Regions from separate parts of the Homo sapiens genome. Here region 2 is linked to region 1. Evidence: promoter capture Hi-C in 16 types of primary human blood cells and fetal thymus (Javierre and others, 2016). All regions are on one chromosome and are shown on one strand. The core of a region is centred on a gene start or on the middle of the fragment in contact, and the rest is flanking DNA. Distances in the headings are between cores, read along the strand shown. Region 1 holds the start of FAM200B (family with sequence similarity 200 member B). Region 2 overlaps NCAPG (non-SMC condensin I complex subunit G).

Region 1 (6,495 bases), core at 504-3,003:
GAATACTGATAAGGAGGAATATCCAGAATATACAGTAAAACAGGAAAAAAAAAAACATGAACAATGCAGAAAATATTGAAGGAGAGACCGAGTGAAATAAGACTGTATATTCTCATCTGCTTGTATCTCTGCATGAAGACCGGAAGGATAAACAAGAAACTAATTTAAAATGATTACCCGTGAAGACTATTAGGAATGGTACTGGATAGGGACTAGGGAGGAAGTGTTTCTTGCTGCATTTCTTTTCATGTAGTTTGAGCCATGTAAAAGAAATATTTGCTAATCAAAAAACAGCTTTAAAAATCCAGTGGGAGAGGCTGGGTGCAGTGGCTCACCCCTGTAATCCCAGCACTTTGGGAGGCCCAAGTGGGTGGATCACCTGAGGTCAGGAGTTCGAGACCAGCCTGGCCAAAATGGTGAAACCCCGTCTTTGTATTTTTGAAAAATACAAAAATTAGCCTGGCATGGTGGCGGTCGCCTGTAATCCCAGCTACTCGGGAGGTTGTGGCAGGGGAATCGCTTGAACCAGGAGGCTGAGGTTGCAGTGAGCCGAGGCTGCGCCACTGCACTCCAGCCTGGGCGAGAGAGTGAGACTCCGTCTCAAAAATTAAAAAAAAAAATCCAGTTGGAGAATCAAAAATTTTTAAAAATTTGACTGTGTAATCCTACAAGAAGTAAGTAGCTTGAGAAAGAGAAATGCTGATAAAGTCGCATTAAGTTTCAGAGTTGAAATTCAAGCTCCTGTATCTAACATGTTTCCCTGTTTAAGGTAGAATTTAAAAAAAAACTATATATGACATATATATGTCAACCCAAAAAAATAAAGCAGTATATATTATATATATAAGAATATATATATATTCTCCTTTATATGTTTTTTGTTTCACATATATATATAAATATATATCTCAACCACAAAAAAATTTGGTTTGTGACAAAGATGCACTTATTTGCACGAACCTATCTTGTTAATGATCAAGAAATCTGCTTTGTTACAATCATTAGAGGACAGAAATATACATACATATTTAAATCTATTTAATGAAATGCAGTTTTATGTTAAAAATCAATGATCTGCTAACCTAAAGAGTCGCACAGGAATACTATGATTATTAAACACAATGCGATTCTCTAAATAAGTAAACACGTGCAATGATATCAAAGTTCAAAATTCTCTAATTCTTCCACAAAGACTATGAAAATCACCTTGGAGTGTATGAACCAGCGTCCTGGCCCCGCCAGGTCGGGGCTGGGGCGGGCGCGGGCCGGGAGCGCTTACCCCGCGGCAGGAGCGATTCAGCGCCACTACCTGCTTCGCCTGGTTGTGGTGTGGCTGCTGCGCCAACCGAAAGGCCTCCTTAATCCGCAGCAGTCTCTTTTCGCTCCCATGGCTCTGGGACTCTGTCCGGACTAGCCCTGTCCGCGCTCGGCTACATCCGGCCCGCCCACCAGCTCAGAGGCAGAGTTCTCCGCGGTGTCTCCTAGGGTTTCTTGTCAGAGGGCCCCAGGCGCCTAGGGAGTCGTTACCGCCCTGGCATTCAAATAACTCCCGCGAGAGGCGGAAATCCCGCGAGACTGCCGACAGAGCGTAGGGAAGTGGAAAAGTGGAGCCTGCACCGCCCGCTCCCGGCACCCCCGGACACCGCCCCGGTCTCACGCATGCGCAGAGGGCCGATCCAGTTCTTTTCGGCTGGAATGGGGAATTTGTGAGGTAGGCCGGAAGTGGTGTTGCGGAGGGAAGTGTGGGGAGAGCAGAGGCGCAGCTCTGCTGGAGAGACCTGAGGCTTGCAGCGCTGGGCCCGGCCGGGTCGCTGCGGCTGGGCTGGAGGTGAGGCGAAAGAAGGGCATCCTCTGATGGGAGTGGACCGGAGTCCGCTAAAGCGAAGCATTCCAGGGTTCGTTGCGGGAAATACAGTCTGGTTTTGCCCCCCGTATGAATTGAGGGAAGGTGAGAGCAGAAGCAATCCGGGCCTGAAGGGCGATTATTCTAGGGTCGGCCGAGGGGTTCAGGCCAAAGTTCATTGAAATCCTAGCTGGGTCCCTGGAGGACGAGAAAACCGGTCAGGAGTCTCCTGGGAAGAGGGTCATGTTTTAATCTAGCTAAAGCTGGTACCTGGCAGTTTCCACTCTTAAGGCCTAGTGTACTAACTAATGTGTGCGCAATGTCAAAACAGGAAACAAAGGGAAATGCAAGAGGTGGAAGGTAATTTTAAGTTAGTGGCAGTATGACAGATTTCCAGTGCCTTCAGGAAGGTATCCAGCCTTAAAGATGCTTTTTTTAAATAGACGATTTTAGACAGAAAAAAGGTAGAAACAAAACTATAACACATGTGTACTCACCACTGAATTGGAGAAATAAATGATTATATAAGTGATTGAAGTCCTTTGTCAGCTCTACCCCGTCTCATTCTCTTTCCTTTTGCCTAAGGAAACCACTCTCCTAACCACCTTTATGCAATCTGTAATGTGTACATCTTTTTGCAGCTAGCTTGTTTTACATAATGTTTTTGAGATTTGTCAGTGTTGTGTAACTCCACCTTATTCATCTTAATAGCTGAACAGATATTCTGTTATTTTAATATGTCACTGTTCATTGTTTAGTATCTCCAGTGCCTGACATACTTTAGGCACTGTAGGTAGCTAAATGTTAGTTGAATGCATGGCTGCTGTAGCATTTGAACTAAGTAGAAAAGAATAAATAGGACTTCATGTGACCCAACAAGAGTATTCCAGGCAAAAGGAATACTAGCCAAAAGCAGAGACATGAAAGTGCATGAACTATTTCAAGAATTTCCATACTTTTAGTACTGAAATGTAGAATGTATGGAGATCATGTGATGAAGGAGAAACCTGGAAAGATGAGGCTTAAGCTTAAAGGATATTATCCTGAAGAGCTTACACAAGCTCGGCGCCATTAAATGCTTTTCCAGTTATGAGGAAGCTGATTAGAGCTGTATTTTCAGAAGATGATACAGCGCACTAGAGATATATCTTAGGATATAAAAGATTAGTGACGGGGAATTTTAGACTATCAAGCATTGTAACAATAACAATCATTGCATTAAGCAAGTAAGACAACCAGCCAGACTAAAAATCCAAAAACATTTTCCTAGTCCATCATATTATCACATTCCTTAACAATTATTAATATTTCATATTTTCTTCTGACAAACTTGCAACATTTTCTACTTCGGCCTCTTACTTAGATGATACCTCACATCCTATTGAGTTAAAAAAAAACTTCCCCATGCTTTCATCACCACATCTACCAGACCTGTTCCCTAATATACTGCCACTGCTGTTACTATAGATGAACTGTCTGATTTAGGAGGGAGAGTAAACCCTTTAAAAATATCTTTTTAATACAATAGTAACTGAACTAGTGTTACAAACTTTCAAGGGGGGATTGAAACGTGAATAGTAAGAATATGAAAGAATGGAATAGTTAAAAGACAATTGCTTCTAAGAGATAAATGATCCATATATAGTAATATAAAAATAAGATACTTTTTTAATGTATATTTCTTTTTTTCAGGTAGATTTAGGTTCTAAGCTTTAAAAGCTAAATCTAAATTTACATGTATGTTTTTATAGGATCATTGTTTCTACTATTTCTTAACATAAGCAGTTTATTATGAAGTAGAATCTTTAACAATCCTGTTTTAAATAATATGTTTTATTAGCCTTCGTCTTACATATTTCCCAGTTGTCCAAATATAGTTGGATAACTTATTTGTTACTGACTGTGATAAAAATAGAGTGTACATTGTACAGTTTACTACAGGTGTCATTAATTTTCTCATTCTCTCATATGCATTGAGTAACTACCATACAGCAAGCACTATTCTAGGAACAGGTAGATAAGATTTATTAGTGGAAAATCACTTACCTAAAACCATATCATATAACCGTGTTAATGCACCTTGGTGTATGAGAAACTTTCAACTACAAATATTTGATTACCTTAATTGCAATTCTTAAGGGAGGCTAAGTAGATGGATAGCTGAATAAAGTTATTACTTGGAAATGTTGCCATGTAGCCGCAGGAGCCAATTTCAGTGCACACATCTTAAGCATCAGTGTACACATTTATAGGTCTTTGGTGTTTGGGCCAGCAGAACCCACCTGGGTTATGGAATCACACTGGTGTACTTGATCGTGTTCGGGTATGAACATGCTCTGATTTACATTGAGTACTAATTGAGCATGTCTATTTAAATTAAAGTTCCAGAATTTATGTTTAGGCCAGAACCTCAGGTTTGAACTTCTCCCCTAAAATTCCTCTGGCTTCTCATTAAAGCCGCTTTCGGAGATATAAGTAAAGAAAGTCAAACAAAAGACTTTGTAGCATGTTTTGTTTAACATGTTTTGTTTAGCACTGTTTTTCTTGAGCTATATATGATAAATATCTAGGGAGAGGTGGCAGAAGGACAAAATTGTAGTAGTTTGAGGTTTCTTGGGGGAAAGTTGAAGCATTAAAACATGTTAGCATCCTTATATGAACTTTTAACTATGGAAGGAAGAGTCAGTATTCCCTTTCAGGCAGCTGTTTATCTGGCTTAGACTGCCTCAAGGCTGTGTATTGCCCTTCAGCTTTTCTTATGCATTAGAAAGAGATCTAGATGCATTTGCCTTTAGCAGTGTAGTTCTGAATACATTGATGACCACCCACTGTGCTGGGACATGCAAGAGGTATGTACCATAAACTCTTTAGTCCTGCTAATGTCCTCGACAGAGGACATAAAACCTCCTAAGAAAAGCTTTGTCTCTTTCCAGCCAAGGTTAACTATTTGTAACATGTCATCTTTCAAGGAAGCATCTAACCAAGATTAAGTCAAAGGCATCTACCAGGTCCTGAATTCTCTCCCAGATGCACACCTTTTAAGGTACAATCAGGTACCATATGTAATCTGTAGCTATTTAACCATCGTTAAAGCATTTAGGACTTTGATTTCCTAGAAGAAGTCATGGTCTGCAAAATAATTGTATTAAAAGGTATAAAACCTGATCAGGAAAAAGAGGTTTAGGGCCAAACTATACAACTTTGTAACTAGACCAATAACACAAAATAATAGTGTTTTAAAATGTACCCAGGATTTATTTTAATCAGATATGGTAAGATATGCAGATGTGAAAATGATTGTCATGAAAGAAGAAATTTTTATACTCATGGATCCCTAGAAACAGGAAGCATGGCACCTTACACCATGCAAGGGTGCCATACCTAGAAGCAGCAGGGTCAATGGGGAGAGGAAGTACAAGGAAACTGCAGGAAAGCCTTTATTTGGTTTTCTGAGGAAGGAATGGGCAAAACTGGATAAGCAGGCTTGAACAGGTTTAAAATTGGCTAGTTGAAATAATTTTGGCCGACTTCGGGCGTAGGGGATATCCCTAGTTGCCTGGTAGCTGGTCTGGAGTGATTAGGATAGGGCAATATTGGCCAGGAGTATAAGAACCCAAGATGTCTGTGTTGGGAGTTGGGGGATTCTGGATTGGTTAGTTTGCATAGGAATTAGCTAACCCTGGGAGAGGTAGTACCTCTCCAGTCATCAAGGACCCACCTAGATACCAAATGATTAACAATACAAAAATAAGAAAGTACAATTAATACAAACAGTCATAATAAAGATACAGTATTAACACAGTTAAGACGTGGAAATTTTAATAAATAAACACTACAGTAAATGTAGGACTGCACCCCTCCCAAAAAATTTGAGATAATTTGATGGAAAGGTGTGTAAGGAAGGGTTGAAACTACTGTTATGGTCATAAGACTGAAATATACTATGATCCAAGAGAGCAGTGCAGCACTACCAAGGCAGGCATGACCAAGATAGGTGCGGCCAAGCAAAAAGGAAGTATGTATGGTGAATAAGCTATACTCCTTCATGGCTTGCTGTATTCTGTTTTGTTAATATACTTTCCAAGTCCTGATGCCAACTTCTGGGTTTTACTGTCACTATTTTTCTATTTACTAATCTCAGTTGAAGTGGTTTGCCTTACAGAAATAGGCCTAAGCCAATATAAGATAGTGATAAAGAGAGCTATAGACTGTTTGCCTCACCATCTATGATCTTGGATATCATAAAGGCCCCCATAGCTGGCAGTAATACTACTTTGTACTGTGATGCTTTAATGTCTTATCTCTGGTCTTATTCCCAGGTCAAGGATGCATTCCAGGAAAGTTCTATAAAAATATACCATCAACTCCAACCTGATATTTGACCTAGCCATGGAAAACCTCATTGGCTCCTCACTGGATCAGACCATAAAAATGATCCAGGAATGAAAATCTAAGATAAATTCCCACCACTTCAAGATGTTCTTATACAAGTCAACAGTCTAGCAGATCAGCCAGTCTCTTTCATCATCAAGCAGACATACTCAAGGTACCAACACAGCAAAGGCACAAAATGTCTCTATATCAGTATTTTTCATGGTATATGTGAGACCCATTAGTGAGGCATGAAATCAATTCTGTGAGTCACAATGAAC
Region 2 (6,081 bases), core at 1-2,500, 2.1 Mb after region 1:
CAGGGGCCCTCCGTGGCCCTCGGGCTCGGCGCACCGTGACTCCAGCCTTGTTCACCTTCGCGACTCACTTCATAGGGATCTGAGGTTCGGAGAAGTCAGGGACTTACCCGAGGTCGCCTGGGCCCAGGCCAGAAAGCCTCCGAAGCCTGGGCGTCGTTCACACGGGCCCCGCCTTGGCTTTTCTGAGCCGACACCCCCAGCTTCTGGGCGGCGTGGACCGTTATTCCTTAGTCCGATCGTGAACGTGGAGAGAAACATTTACGACCACCGAGGCGATCAGACATCAAATATTGAACCGCAGAGTGGATCCTGAATGCGGGGGTTCAGTGGTCGTTGCCCCTGGGGTCATCGCTCCCCGCCGAACATCAAATGATTCTACCCTTGTCCTACGGTTACGTTGAATCCAATCACCAAATACCAAATTATTTTTAGGGCCTGGCCATTCTTATTTATGTACATACTATTTGTTTGTTTTGAGTGGAACCTTGAGAAGAATAGAACAATTAATTTGGGGAAGATGAATTATCTTGAGGTCCAAGAAAAATTGTGAGTAAACATCACAGGGCTTTGAGGATATGAGATAGGATGTGCAAGTTATCTCATAAAGAAACTGCTGGTGATAGGAAGGCCTGAATATGAGAAATATAAAAGCCAGTATTGATTTTGGGTTGTTGAAGAAGCGTATTTGTAACGTACTGGTACTAAAGGCTTATTGAGAATCAAAGATATTGAAAAAAATATATCAAAGGAATCTTTTCACTGTCAAAAGTCAAGCTTGTGTACTCCCATTATAGCCTGGAGAGAAATTCATGCAAATTGATTGCCCTTTGGCTGGTTTGGATAATTAAGAGTTTACTAAATAAATATTTTAATTTGTCTGCATTATTATGGCTAGTGCTTTCATCAGTCTTAGGGTGATGTTGGGAATAAAGGATTTTTATCGGTGCAGTTTATGAAGGGTTTCTTTTGTCTTTCAGATGGATGATAAGACAGTTTTTCATGAGGAGTTCATTCATTACCTTAAATATGTTATGGTGGTCTATAAACGTGAACCAGCTGTGGAGAGGGTAATAGAATTTGCAGCAAAGTTTGTTACCTCATTTCACCAATCAGATATGGAAGATGATGAGGAAGAGGAAGATGGTGGCCTTTTAAATTATTTGTTTACTTTTCTCTTAAAGGTACTATGAAAATGATAGCTTTGGGGAGGGATTTTAGAAAATTTTGCCACTTTAAAAGAGTCGTGGGAGTTTGTATGTTTTTGACAATGAAATATCTAGTGATTGAAAAAACCTGAATGAGTCTACCTTTCATAGGAAATATTAGAATTATCATTATGATTAAAAAGTGGACTTTAACTCCAGCATTAAATTTTTAATGACCTCTTTAAACCAGTTCTCCTTTGTTTATTTTAAATGAGTTCTGTATTTTAGAAGCCTCTACAAAGAGGACTATGTAACTTAGCAAAGACTTCTTTCAGACTGTTCATTTTGAGACTGTATAAAATATATATATTTGCTATACATATGGACCAAGGTAGCATTATAGGTTCTCTTCAGGAAATGAATTGTTGTTGTAACTTCTTGCATTCCGAATGTATAGAGTTCAGATAATATTGATTATTTGGGAGTGGTATGTGACTATGAATAAATTTTGATTTGTTTCTGTTTTAGTCTCATGAAGCAAACAGCAATGCAGTGAGATTTAGAGTGTGCCTGCTCATAAACAAGCTTTTGGGAAGTATGCCAGAAAATGCTCAGATTGATGATGATGTGTTTGATAAAATTAATAAAGCCATGCTTATTAGATTGAAAGATAAGATTCCAAATGTGAGAATACAGGCAGTTCTGGCGCTTTCACGACTTCAGGATCCCAAGGATGATGAATGCCCAGTGGTTAATGGTGTGTGTAGTTTCCTAAATCTTTTTTCAGATTTGTTGATTTTGTTAAATTCTCAGTATTTGAAATTTTTTATTATGGTCTATACATTTGAAGAGTATAGGTAATTAATATATGATTCCGATTAAACAAAAAAAACCTAAGTAGCAACCACCCAGCTTAAAAAAAAAAGTCAGTACTTGCATCCTATCCCAGTTGCATCCCTGTCCCTCAGAAGTAACTATTAAATCCTCAGTTTGGGGTTAATTAGTCTCTTGCTTAAATTAAAAAAAATTTTTTTGCATAAATCACATATGTCTATCTTAATGTTTTCCTGTCATTTTGTGTAAATCATGCTGTATGTATATATTTAGCAGCCAATTATATTTCTATATAATACCTGTTACTGTGTTTTGCCCATTTTTTCATTGGGTTTTTAATTTAAAATACTATTTTAAAAAATTCATTTGCATTCTTTATATATTTTGAAAAGAAATCCTTGGGTTATATGAATTGTAGATCTCTTCCTGTTTTAGGTGGCTCATTGGGGTATCATTGTTTCACTCCCTTTGGGGTATCTTTTTTTTGAACAGAAATTCTTATGTCAAAAATATAAATCTCTGCCATTATGATTCGTATTTTTTAATCTCTTTTTTAAGGAACTTTTTCTTACCTATGGGGTCATAAAGGTAGTTGTATTTCATTTTTCCATATATGCCTAGGTATGTTTTAGGCACTCTTCTGTCCTTTTTGTCCCTATTACCAGTTTTATAATCACTGGTATATTTATCACTATAGTAGTTGGTATTTTTTTTGGTGTTAAAAGATACCCATAATAATATTGTGTAAAACATAGGTATTTGATAGTCAACCTGTACTTAATAATTGAGGTAGGAAAGATGTGAGAAGTACAGATAAATATATTTAAATATAAGAAATGGGTTTGTTTCAATGAATAAAACCAAAAAATATTTCCTTTTAGGTCTCATTAAAAACCAAAATAATGGGCCCTTATAAAGCCATATCAGTTTAAAATAAACTGTCTGCTATAGTAAGCTTTCTCTTAAATATTGAGGAGTAGCACAGACATAATCTTAATGATGAATTTTCTGTGACTTTTAGGGCTATTTGTTTTCACTTTTGGCCTAAGAGCCAGTCCGTTGACTAATTCCCCCTTGTGTCTTTAGAAGGGAAGTTGGTGGCCTGCGCAGCAGTGACTCAGGCCTGTAATCTCAGCACTTTGGCTCCAACCTGGGCAACATAGTGAGACCTTGTCTCCAAAAAAAAGAAAAAGAAGGAAGTTGGTGGGAAAAAAACTTCAACTAAAATATGTGAGACTAAAAAAATGACATTACTTTCTATTACAGATGGGTTCTCACTCGGGCTGGATTGCAGAGGTGTGGCCTCAAACTCCTGGGCTTAAGTGATCCTTCCACCTCAGCCTCCTAAGTAACTGGAAGCGCCACTACCATGCCTAGCTAATTTTTTATTTTAAAATTATTTTGTAGAGACAGGGGTCTTTCTATATTGCTCAGGCTGGTCTTGAACTCTTGGCTTCAAGCTCTCCACCTACCTTGGCCTCCCAAAGTGCTGGTTATAGGCAGTAGCCATCATGCCCAGCCTATCTTTATCACATTAAAGGCATTTTAAAATATCAAAATGTGTGTTATTTTATGACTGTAGTTAAATAAATAATTTCATCAGTACTAAAATGTATTGCTTTATTTTTAGCATATGCTACTTTGATTGAAAATGATTCAAATCCAGAAGTTAGACGGGCAGTGTTATCATGTATTGCACCATCAGCAAAGACTTTGCCAAAAATTGTAGGGCGCACCAAGGATGTGAAAGAGGCTGTCAGAAAGCTGGCTTATCAGGTAAATAAGTTCAATGTCTTGTGTTGGCATATTCTTAAAGGACAAGGAGCCATTTTCTTAAAGTGCCTTTGAAAAATACTTGGCATGTAATAATTTCTTCAGTTGAGGTTTTATGGAGAACACAGGTAATTTAGGTAGAATCTTACTGTATTAAGTATGTTACCAGGTATTAATTTCTTTTGGAGATTCTGGGTAATTTTCTAAGATGGTGATATTCTTATGAAATCTATAAATTGTGTTGAGGTTAATGACCATCTTTATAAATTATTTTTAAGGTTTTAGCTGAAAAGGTTCATATGAGAGCTATGTCCATTGCTCAGAGAGTAATGCTCCTTCAACAAGGTCTTAATGACAGATCAGGTAAGATAAACAACTTTATATATACAAAACTTTAGTAGATTTTGAGGTCAGACTTAACAAGGTTTAAGAAACGAGTGTCAAATCAGGTCAAGTAAGCCTGCCAGTCCCATGAACCTGGTGAAATTTATCTTGATGTATTATATAGAAAACACAGGGCTAAAGATTTTGATATATATATATTTTTGAGACAGAGTCTCACTCTATCACCCAGACTGGAGTGCTGTGGTGCAATCTTGGCTCACTGCAACCTCTGCCTTCTAGTTTCAAGCGATTCTCCTGCCTCAGCCTCCTGAGCAGCTGGGATTACAGGTGAACATCACCATGTCTGGTTAATTTTTATATTTTTATAGAGACGGGGTTTCACCATGTTGGCCAGACTGGTCTCGAACTCCTGACCTCAAGTGATGCACCTACTTCAGCCTCCCAAAGTGTTGGGATTACAGGTGTGAGCCACCGCGTCTGGCCAAGATCTTGGTATTTTGAAGGAGCAGAGCTTATTTCTTTCACCCTTTCTGTATTTTACAGATGGAGAAACAATACTTAAGTCTGTAGAGCTAATTCATGTCAGAAGTAGGAAAAGATCTATTTGCCCTCTCTCTCTGACTTAAAAAAAAAATGCTGTTCCTTATGTGTATACTTTGGTATGAATGTGTTCTGTGTATCAGAAACAACAAATAGGAATGGTCAGACCAGTATAATTTTCTTATTTTTTTTTTTTTCTGTTAGAGTAGAGTTCCCCAACATTTTTGACACCAAGGATCGATTTCATGGAAGACAGTTTTTCCACAGAGGGCGGGCTGGATGGTTTCCAGATGAAACTGTTCCACCTCAGATCATCAGGCATTACTTAGATTCTCATAAGGAGCGTGCAACCTGGATACCTCATGTGCGCAGTTCACAATAGAGTTCCTGCGCCTGAGAGAATCTAATGCATCTGCTGATCTGACAGTAGGAAGAGCTCAGGTGGTAATGCTCGTTAGACCACGGCTTACCTCCTCCTGTGCGGCCCGGTTCCTAACAGGCCACAGACTGGTACTAGTCCGTGGCCCAGGGGTTGGGGAGCCTGAGAGAATCTGCTTATAGGAATGATATTTTTTGAAGTTTTTAACTCTCATGAGAAGGCCAAGATGGCTCTATTGCGCTGTAGTGAGAAAACCGACTTGCGTTTGAAAACATTGTCAGAGGACTAATTAGTAGGATGACCTTAAAAGCTAAGACTAAGGTTTGTTCAGTGACGTGTGCTTGTATAGTTCACTACTGCAAATAGCAATCGTGTAATAGATAAAATCAGATAACAAGTGAGATAATAGCTATTACATATTCTGGGCTAACACCTGAAGCCCATTGAACCCAGGGGAGAAGGAATGTAAAGATATTTTTGTAGGCTGTGGTATTTGGTGCTGAACCTTTTCCATTTTTATTTGTAAGTGACCATTACAGTGACTTTTGCAGTATCATGGTACTTCTTTTTTTTTACCTTTAATATGCTTAGTTGGCTGGGCGCTATGGCTCACACCTGTAATCTCAGCACTTTTGGAGGCCGAGGCAGGCGGATCACGAGGTCAAGAGATTGAGACCATCCTGGCCAACATGGTGAAACAAAAATTAGCTGGGCGTGGTGGCGCATGCCTGTAGTCCCAGCTACTCGGGAGGCTGAGGCAGGAGAATCGCTTGAATCTGGTAGGTGGAGGTTGCAGTGAACCAAGATCGTGCCACTGCACTCCAGCCTGGTGACAGAGCGAGACTCTGTCTCAAAAAATATATATATACATGCTTAGTTGTGCCTCTTAACCTCTACTATTTCTATTGTAAATACTGACTTTGTTAATTAAAACAGACAAAATACAAGAGATGGAAGCTAGAGGGAGCCTTTGTTCACCTATGTTTCAAATGACTCAATAGATGCTGTGAAACAAGCTATGCAGAAGCATCTTCTTCAAGGCTGGTTACGGTTCTCTGAAGGAAA

What was found. Contacts are between HindIII fragments. The CHiCAGO score rates a contact against its expected background, and 5 or more counts as called.
Region 2: a fragment that was not itself captured here is called in contact with the fragment with the promoter of FAM200B in region 1 in 2 of 17 cell types (fetal thymus and activated CD4 T cells); the score reaches 8.4 in fetal thymus.

What each region holds. Positions count from the first base shown.
Region 1 is chr4:15,680,074-15,686,568 of GRCh38, forward strand. It overlaps FAM200B (family with sequence similarity 200 member B), which reads left to right and starts at 1,754. Exons shown (of 2, transcript NM_001145191.2): 1 at 1,754-1,828; 2 at 6,163-6,495. It also overlaps a transcript of FBXL5 not described here. RefSeq lists enhancers at 1,254-1,553, 1,724-1,963, 1,974-2,023. The HindIII fragment of the contact is 4,207 bases long and covers 1-2,868 here.
Region 2 is chr4:17,811,244-17,817,324 of GRCh38, forward strand. NCAPG (non-SMC condensin I complex subunit G) reads left to right here. Exons shown (of 21, transcript NM_022346.5): 2 at 978-1,181; 3 at 1,674-1,902; 4 at 3,610-3,755; 5 at 4,031-4,115; 6 at 6,018-6,081. Among named protein-coding and RNA genes, the nearest start is that of NCAPG, 3.3 kb to the left of the region's middle. RefSeq lists an enhancer at 1-207. The HindIII fragment of the contact is 956 bases long and covers 773-1,728 here.